Linked DNA regions of Homo sapiens: region 2 is linked to region 1. Evidence: promoter capture Hi-C in 16 types of primary human blood cells and fetal thymus (Javierre and others, 2016). All regions are on one chromosome and are shown on one strand. Each heading gives the region's core, a stretch centred on a gene start or on the middle of the fragment in contact. The rest is flanking DNA. Distances are from core to core; before and after follow the strand shown. Region 1 holds the start of DPYS (dihydropyrimidinase). Region 2 has its middle 180 kb from the start of LRP12.

Evidence for each region. The method cuts DNA at HindIII sites, captures the fragments that hold promoters and counts their contacts. A CHiCAGO score of 5 or more calls a contact.
Region 2: a fragment that was not itself captured here is called in contact with the fragment with the promoter of DPYS in region 1 in 2 of 17 cell types (erythroblasts and megakaryocytes); the score reaches 5.6 in erythroblasts.

Annotation. Positions count from the first base shown.
Region 1 is chr8:104,464,967-104,469,120 of GRCh38, forward strand. It overlaps DPYS (dihydropyrimidinase), which reads right to left and starts at 2,089. Exons shown (of 10, transcript NM_001385.3): 1 at 1,691-2,089. The coding sequence starts at 1,954. LOC105375691 (a long non-coding RNA gene) reads left to right here and starts at 804. Exons shown (of 3, transcript XR_928507.3): 1 at 804-1,021. RefSeq lists an enhancer at 3,843-4,154. The HindIII fragment of the contact is 2,857 bases long and covers 59-2,915 here.
Region 2 is chr8:104,770,043-104,774,196 of GRCh38, forward strand. No RefSeq gene overlaps it. Among named protein-coding and RNA genes, the nearest start is that of LRP12, 180 kb to the left of the region's middle. The HindIII fragment of the contact is 613 bases long and covers 1,931-2,543 here.

The DNA of each region.
Region 1 (4,154 bases), core at 839-3,338:
TCCTACAAAAGACTTTATTGACATAAAGATATAGGTTGATAATTAGTAATCAGGAAGAAGCTTTCCAAATGGTGATTTGAGCAGCCTGCCCAGATCCTTCTCTCTGGGTCAAATCTACCTGCCTTCCTTTTTTTCTGTTAATCATTCCAGTCAATTATAGAGGATTGGGGAACTTGGAGAGGGGGAGGTGTAAGGAGAGCAAAACTGTCAGAAATCAGTATATGAATGAAGTAGCTATCACCAAAACTGCTTTGGAAGACTGTCAGCCTGTCCACAGTAACATGGGAATAGAAAGAAAGAGAGGGGTGGAGGGGGTAGTGGGGGGAGAAAGAAGGGAGGGAGTGATGGAGAGAAGGAGGGAGGGAGGAAGGAAGCCTACTATACACTGGACTTAATAGCCCAACTTGTTTCACACATCAAGGTATGGTCCAAGTGAAAAGCCAAGGCCTTTAGTATATCAATACATCTTCACTTTGGAAGGAGCCATTTCTCTCAAGGCAGCTCAAAACACAGGACTTAGGGAGGATGTGGGCTTTACTTTAGCCCAAGTGCTGAGAGTAGAATTTTTACTCTATGTTCCTGTAAAGCTGCTCTGTTAGTCTCTTGATCTTGTGTTGAGGAGCTTTGGGGAAATGTTGCAGGGGTGTCCAATCTTTGGCTTCTCTTGTCTTGGGCCACACATGAAATATACTAACACTAACGACAGCCAATGAACTAAGAAAAAAAATCTCATAATGTTTTAAGAAAGTTTATGAATTTGTGTTGGGCCGCATTCAAAGCTGTCCTGGGCTGCATGCGGCCTACAGGTTGGACAAGTTTGGTTTAAGTTTCCTTTCATTGACCCAAACTTCTAGGCCTTTGTATCTAGAGAAACCCAAGCCTACCTTCACCTGGGGAGTGGTGATCTGATTACCCTCCTGCAACATCAGTAAAACTATGGGTACTCCAGCAGCAAGAATGTTGTGTCCCCAGCGCAAGTGGGATGGAGAAAAGAGCCTGCTGCGAGGCTGCGTTGGTGTGTGTGAGTGTTGCGAGATCATTTCTGGAATACTTTCTCTTCTAAACCCTGGTCGGGGCTATATTTTTTCTACTGGGGGTGGGAGTGGGGGCAGAGGGTAGGGGACGGGAACGTGAACACGGTGGGCATCTAGCCTACTCAGACACATTACCTGCTACACTGCTCACTTTGAGTCAAGGCTGTAACTACCAGGTGAATGGATTTTTCATTTGGTTTTGGTTGGGGATAAAGGATGGGTCGAAATGGTTGGGAGAAATGGCTGGAAGTGCCTACTTTAAAAAAAGATTCTAAAGAATGTATGGAAGATTTGCGACTTCCACAGAACACCAATCAAAATGGGGTTGCGGGGAGATTTGGGGAGTAAGCGGTATAGAGAAATTAGGGTAAGGGGATGGCCTTAAACTCGTCAAATTAACCACTAAAGGAGGAGTCGAGGGCATCTGGTTGAGCCAAGGCTGCTCGGCTGCCGCCGAGAAGGGGCGCCTGAAAGGGACCCCAGCGAAGAGAATCTGAGTCCCCTCTGACACCCGCCGGGGCTGCGCTCCTTCCCGCCCACCCAGCTCCTCGGCGCCGCGCCGCGCGAGGCGGCCCTGCTGAGGACCCCGGGACGACTGGGGAGGCTGCCCGAGCCTCCGTGGGTACCGCGGGGCGGGGGCGCGGCGGGGCGGGTACCTTGGTGCCCTGGTGGAAGTCGTCGATGGACCGCGAGCCCATGAAGGGGAACTGCATGTGCGTGTGTGTGTCGATGCCTCCGGGCAGGACGAGCTTGCCGGCGGCGTCGAGGACCCGCAGCCCCGCAGGAGCGCCCCCGGGAGGCAGCAGGTCGTGCCCGAGTGCCCGCACCACGCCGTCCTCCACCAGCACGTCGGCCACCTCCGAGAAGTCATCGTTGACCACGCGACCCCCGCGGATCAGGAGCCGCGAGGGCGCCGCCATAGCGAGGGGCGCGCGGGGTCCTACTCGGCCCGGGCTGCGCGCAGGGGCTGGGTTGGGCGGGCCGGGCGGGCTTGGGGTGCCCTCCTGCAAGGTCCCCACCGACAGCCCCCGAGCTCTGCCTCAGGCTGCAAATCCGGAGCCCGGCGGCCTGACGGGTTTATGACCTGGCCGCATATGCGGCTCCTCCCCCCGGGAAGGCTGGGCTGGAGCCCAAAGGCCGGGATTGAACAGGTCCGCATGGTCCTTGCACACTCAGACCCCAAGTGTTCTGCGCCCTGAGTTGAGGTATCCACCCAGGCTTCGGAGTCATTGGAAGGGAAAGATCTTGGAATTTTAAGAGAAAGGAACCTGCGTTTTTCATCATAAGATTAGGTGCTAAAGGGAAAGAAATCCACCTCACCCTTTCCCTTGGTTGGGGGTGTGTTTGTACCAAAAGACAGATCCAGAGGGAGAAAGAAAGCAAGAACCATCACTAGAAGCAGCAACAAAAATACCCAAACCCACCCAAGCCAGAACAGAGCCACTCGATCTGGGTTTCCTGTTAAATGTTCTTAAGCGAGGAGCAAATTATCATATAATCCCAGTAATTGGCAGACACAGGGAAGGATCAGAGTAAAATATTTAATGTATTTGAAAGAAAACGACTTGGTGTCAACTATTCTCCACAGTTTAATGATACAACACATACCAGCAAGTGTTTCTTGGAAAATAACCGGTACTGTAACTCTAAAGATTTAAATTTCTACTCCCAGCTTTTCCACAAAACCAGTTTAGAGATCTTCAGTTAAATCTTTTATTCTCTTGGTTCCTCAGTTTTCTCATATATAAAATTGATTAATACTTGTTCTTGCCTTCCATATTTGCTTTGAGAAGCAAATATGATCATGGCTGTGAATACACCCTAATAAAGTGGGAAGCACCATGCAAATTCACTTAAATACTGGCTTTGTAAGGACTACAAAGCTTACCTGACTAGGGGGATTGGCTAGAGGGCTAAGTGGGAAAGATAAACCACATTTCCACCCTCAAGTAGCTAACAGCCAACAGTGACACACATTCATATTTCAATATATAAAACAGAACATTCTATCTTTGAGAAGGGATAAAGATAAGAATTTAGAGGAAAGAGTGAGTTTATTTCTGGCTTAAAGACATCAGATATGGAAGATTTGTGAAGAGGTATTTGAACTAGGATACAGAGAATGTGAACACGCAGAGGTGAGTGGTGGGAAGAGGACATAGTGCTCCAGGTAGAGTGAACAGAGCGTGTAAAGGCACAGAGAGGATGAAGGAATGCACTCCCTGTGGTTAAGCTATGAGGGATAGGCTTACACTGAATCCTGGACCATCCCTTTGCTTATAGGGGAGGAGGAGGAAGAAGAGACAGAGTGGTCAGAGAGAAGGGAGACCACAGGTCTGTGTGATGGAAGGCAGGAATGCAGAATTTTAAGAAGGGCAACAGGATGGAATCTTGCAAAAGGGTTATGAAGGGTCATGGGGAGGTGGGGTGGACATCTGCTGACCAGGCATATATTCTTGTCCTTATTCTGGTAACAGTCACTGGCATTTCTTTGGTGGGAAATCCTCTGCCTGAAGTCTCAGAACACTTGTTTTGGAGAAACTGATGGTGAGAGACAGGACTAGCTGGATTTCCTAGGCTGACTAAGAATTCCTAAGCCTAGCTGGGGAAGGTGACTACACCTACCTTTAAACATGGGGCTTGCATCTCAGCTCACACCCTACCAGTCAGGTAGTAAAGAGGGCTCACTAAAATACAAATTAGGTTAAAAGCAGGAGGTAAAGAAATAGTCAAATCATATATCACCTGAGAGCACAGGAGGAGGGACAATGATCAGGATATAAACCCAAGCATTCCAGCAGGGAGCGGCAACCCCCTTTGGGTCCTCTCCCATTGTATGGGAGCTCTGTTTTCACTCTATTAAATTTTGCAGCTGCACACTCTTCTGGTCTGTGTTTGTTACGGCTTGAGCTGAGCTTTTGCTCACCATCCACCACTGCTGTTTGCTGCCGTCACAGACCCGCCGCTGACTTCCACCCCTCTGAATCCAGCAGGGAGTCCGCTGCGCTCCTGATCCAGCGAGGCGCCCATTGCCGCTCCAGTTCAGGCTAGAGGCTCGCCATTGTTCCTGCATGGCTAAGTGCCCGGGTTTGTCCTAATCTAACTGAACACTAGTCGCTG
Region 2 (4,154 bases), core at 987-3,486, 310 kb after region 1:
CTGTGTAAGTGGTTAAAGTACTTGGTAGTGTGCACTCAACTAACACAAGTGATGTATTTTTTGAGCTAGGAGGATTGGTGGTGTTATTCTCCTTTTACAGAGAAATAAACTGAACTTTAGAGATAATTTTGACTTGTCCGATGTATAAAAGTGGTATGTGCAGAAGACAAACTTTAGAAATTGAATCTTCTGATTCCAGATTTTATGTGTTTCCCCTCATTCTATCAGGCTCTGCCCTACAGTTTAGAGGAAACAGAGACAGTGGAGAATAGGGGAAACATTGCTTATTGCTCTTTATTTTCGATCCCTCATAAATTCACCCATTCTTTCAGCATGTACTTACTGTGTGTCTAACACACACAGGGCCATACAGCAAACATACATCCCACTTTGAGAATGAAGGTGAGACAAGGGCCAAGAAAAGTCCCTGTTTTTAAAAGCCTGGAGGATTCTTCTAGAGCTGCCCTCTTGCTCTCTATCCTGCCATTCCAAATGACTCATTCTGCATTACATTAAGTGTAGCATCTTTCCAAAACTCTTGGTCTAAGCCTAGAGATTGTTCTAGCCCAAGATTCTAGCAAGATTTTTATCGCCTGCTGCACAGAAAAGCCAATACATGGAGACAGCAGTGTTGCAGCACAGAAAGAGTTTAATTATCACAGGGCAGCTGAGCAAGAAGAAGGGAGTTATTTCTCAAATGTACCTCCCTGAAAACTCAGAGGCTAGGGTTTTTAAGGATAATTTGGTGGGCAGGGGCTAGGAAATGGGTGCTGTGGTTTGGCTGGGAATGGTATCATAGGGATGTTGAAATTGTCTTTGTGCGCTGAGTCAGTTTCTGGGTAGAATTCACAGGACAAGTTGAGTCAGTTTCTTGGTATGGGTCACAGGTCCAAGTGGCATCATGTGGTCCACCAGGATGCAAAAGTCTGAAAAGTATCTCAAAGACCAGTCTTAGGTTTTATAATAGTGATGTTATTTAGAGGAGCAATTGGGGAAATTAACAAATCTTGACATTCGACTACATGACTCCTGAGCAGTAAGCAATTATAGAAAAGCAAGCTAGGGAAAAATGGCTGGTTATCACTTAACTATGTCTATGTCTTAGCAGAATTCAGGCCCTTCTCATAATTCTAACCTTGTGGTCTTTCATTAGCTTTACAAAGGCAGTTTTGGTCCCTGAACGAGGAGGCGGTTTGTTTCAGGAAGGGACTATTATCATCCTTGCTTTAAAGTTAAACCATAAACAGCATTCTTCCCATTCTTAGCTTGGCCTATGCCCAAGAATGAGCAAGGGCAGTTAGCTTGTGAGGTTAGAAGCAGAATGGAGTCAGTTATGTTAGATTTCTCTCACTGTTATTATTTTTGCAAAGGCAGTTTCAAGATGTCCTTGTTTCTTCTTTTGCACCTGCTCCAATGTGGTCATCAGGTCTTTCTCCATGTTTCTTTAATTTCTAATTCACACAGTGCAGGTCTTCATGGCTAAATGTTTTCATTTCTTAATAGACTCTTGAACAACTGCACCTAATCCAGTGTACTTGGCATGGAGTTCCTAGAGTCATATTTGATGAACATATTTTACAATCTTCCATTTCCTTAAGAATATAGTGTCTCCTTTTCCATATCCCACCTTATCCTAACTCTAACCAAGTGCGACAGGCTCTACATTGTCCAGCTGCCTCTCCTTCCGTTAAGCCTGTCCCCAATTATTCCCCAGCATAATTCCTCCACTTTCTGTGGACTAGACCTTAGTGTCTACTGTGTGCATGCATGTGTGCATGCACATGCGCACACACACACACACACTTTTCCTCTCTCTTGAAATTCTTCCTCAAAAATAAAAAAAAATATAATAATATCAATTGCAAAATAATTTTATAAGAATTAGATAATATAACAAGTAAAAATAAAGTGCTTTGCCTGGTTCAGAATAAGCTTTAAACAGGAAATAAATTATGAATTTGTATTTATCCACACCCTAAAACTCAGTCCACATTGACCGCTCTTTTGCTTTGGGCAACCTCCCCGATTTTATGAATTGAAGGAGTCCAGAATAAACCATTGTGGCATAAAAATTATTTTTAGCTGAAGGCATTTGAGTTCCTAAAATCCCTTATCTGTCTATAAGCAGAGCCTCCCCGAAGAACTCAATTGTCATAAATCCCCTCCCTGGGAGCAGCTGTAATCTCTTCTTGGAGAGGAGAAGTTGGCACCACACCCAAACAAACATTGTCACAAAATTATCACATCTCCCATCTATTCTCCCAAGGGCCCATTTATCTTTCCAAAAAGTCGTTTGTTTTTCCATAAGTTTCTCCCTGCTCCCCAAGAAGTCATTTGTTCTCCCAGAAACACCTGTTTGTCCCTTCCTATAACCTATTAACATAGTGTACAAGCCCCCAATTCTAGCCATCTCCTTCAGTCACATTTTTTTTGTGAACTCCTGCATACATTTGTAATTAAATGTTTTATTTTCTCTTGCTAATCTGTCTTCTGTCAGTTTAATTTGCAGGCTTCCAATCACTAAATTTAAGAGGGTAGAGAAAAGCTTTTACTCCCCAACAATATCATTTATATTATTTAGTACTTGTTACATTACGTAGGTTTGCTTGTTTATTTATGATGCTGTACCTTTTCTCAAATCGATTGTAAACTGCTTTAGATCAAGGACCATATTTTCATCTGTGTGTTTGTGTGTCTGTGTGTGGGGGTGCACATGTGTATACTTTATGGCGTCTATTATAGTGCTGTGGATACTATTGAATTAAATATCTGTTACAATGTAGCATATACAAGAAATGATATTTCTGGATGAATGAATAAAGGAATAAAGGAAATCATGGATATTGGTCATGTGATTATTCTTTAGGATGCAAAGCTACCTATGAGGGTCTCTTTATAACCATTTACTCTTTTCCAGCCCCTCATCTTGATTCCTTCTCCTTCAACACCCATACCCAGTCAATCATTATGTTTTGTCAGTTCCACTTAGCTCATCACTCTTGAATCTGTATTTCTATAAGTCCAGACCATCTGCTTTCTCTTGCAGGTTCATACTCTGCAGGGCAGCCTAGTTGGATGGTACTAAAGGACAGGGATGATTATGTCACTCTCTTGCTTAAAATCCTTTATTAGTTTCCCACTCCCCTTGGGATACAGTCCAAATTGCTCAACATGGGTGTCTTAGTTTGGTTTCTTCAGAGGGTACAGTATGAGACACAGATTTGGGTGGTGGTGGTTTATTTGGGAGGTGATCCCACAGAATAGCGTGAGGGAACCAGGAGTGTGAACATGAGAAAAAAAAAATCAATATAGGGTTTGCTATTGAGCTGGTCCTTATGGCAGATGACTGGGCTCAATTCCCTGGAGACCATCTGAGGAACCACACAGGATCCTTCTCAGAATTGTCCCCCAAGGATGAAATTGGGCACGTATCTGCTGACAGCATTTCTGTTGGTTGGAGAACTATACCTGGAGCTGGGCTATCTGCTTCCCCCAAACTTCCGGCTGCTTCTGTGTGTAGGTGAGCAGCTTTCTACAGCCTCAGAGAAAGCCTTGAGGCAGAACGCTTACTCTGCAGGGTGTACAACCCACACTTGATATTCCCAGACTGATATTCCCAGACTCCCCCAGATGTACCATGCTTTTGCTCATGTGTACATCTGATTCCTTTACCTGGAATTCTTTTCTCCTTGATGACTTCTGCTTTCCTTTAGATTTTAGGGCAGGTATTGCTTCCTTGAGGAAACCTTCCCTGCTTGGTGTCCCCATGCCCTGCCATGTGCCCATAGGAAGGAGTTAGTTTGCTCCTCTTTTGTGTTCCCATAACACACCCTTTTAAATTATACTTACTGCTCTGCATTGTCATTATGGTCTACTTGAAGAGTGAAAGTTACATGAGGCCAAGGGCTATGTCTTTTCCATCATTATATCCTACCATAGATCCTATCTATAGATCCTTATATAGTAGATGGAACACAATATATGCTCAATAAATATTTATGGAACAAAGAATAAATGAACTACGTAATAGTTGTGCCCTGAATATCTTCTAATGTATTAGTACTCTAGTTTCTAAGAAACACAAAGCCCAACCCAAATTGACTTAAGCCAAAAAGATAATTCAGTACTTAATTAATTAACTGAAAAATGCTGGG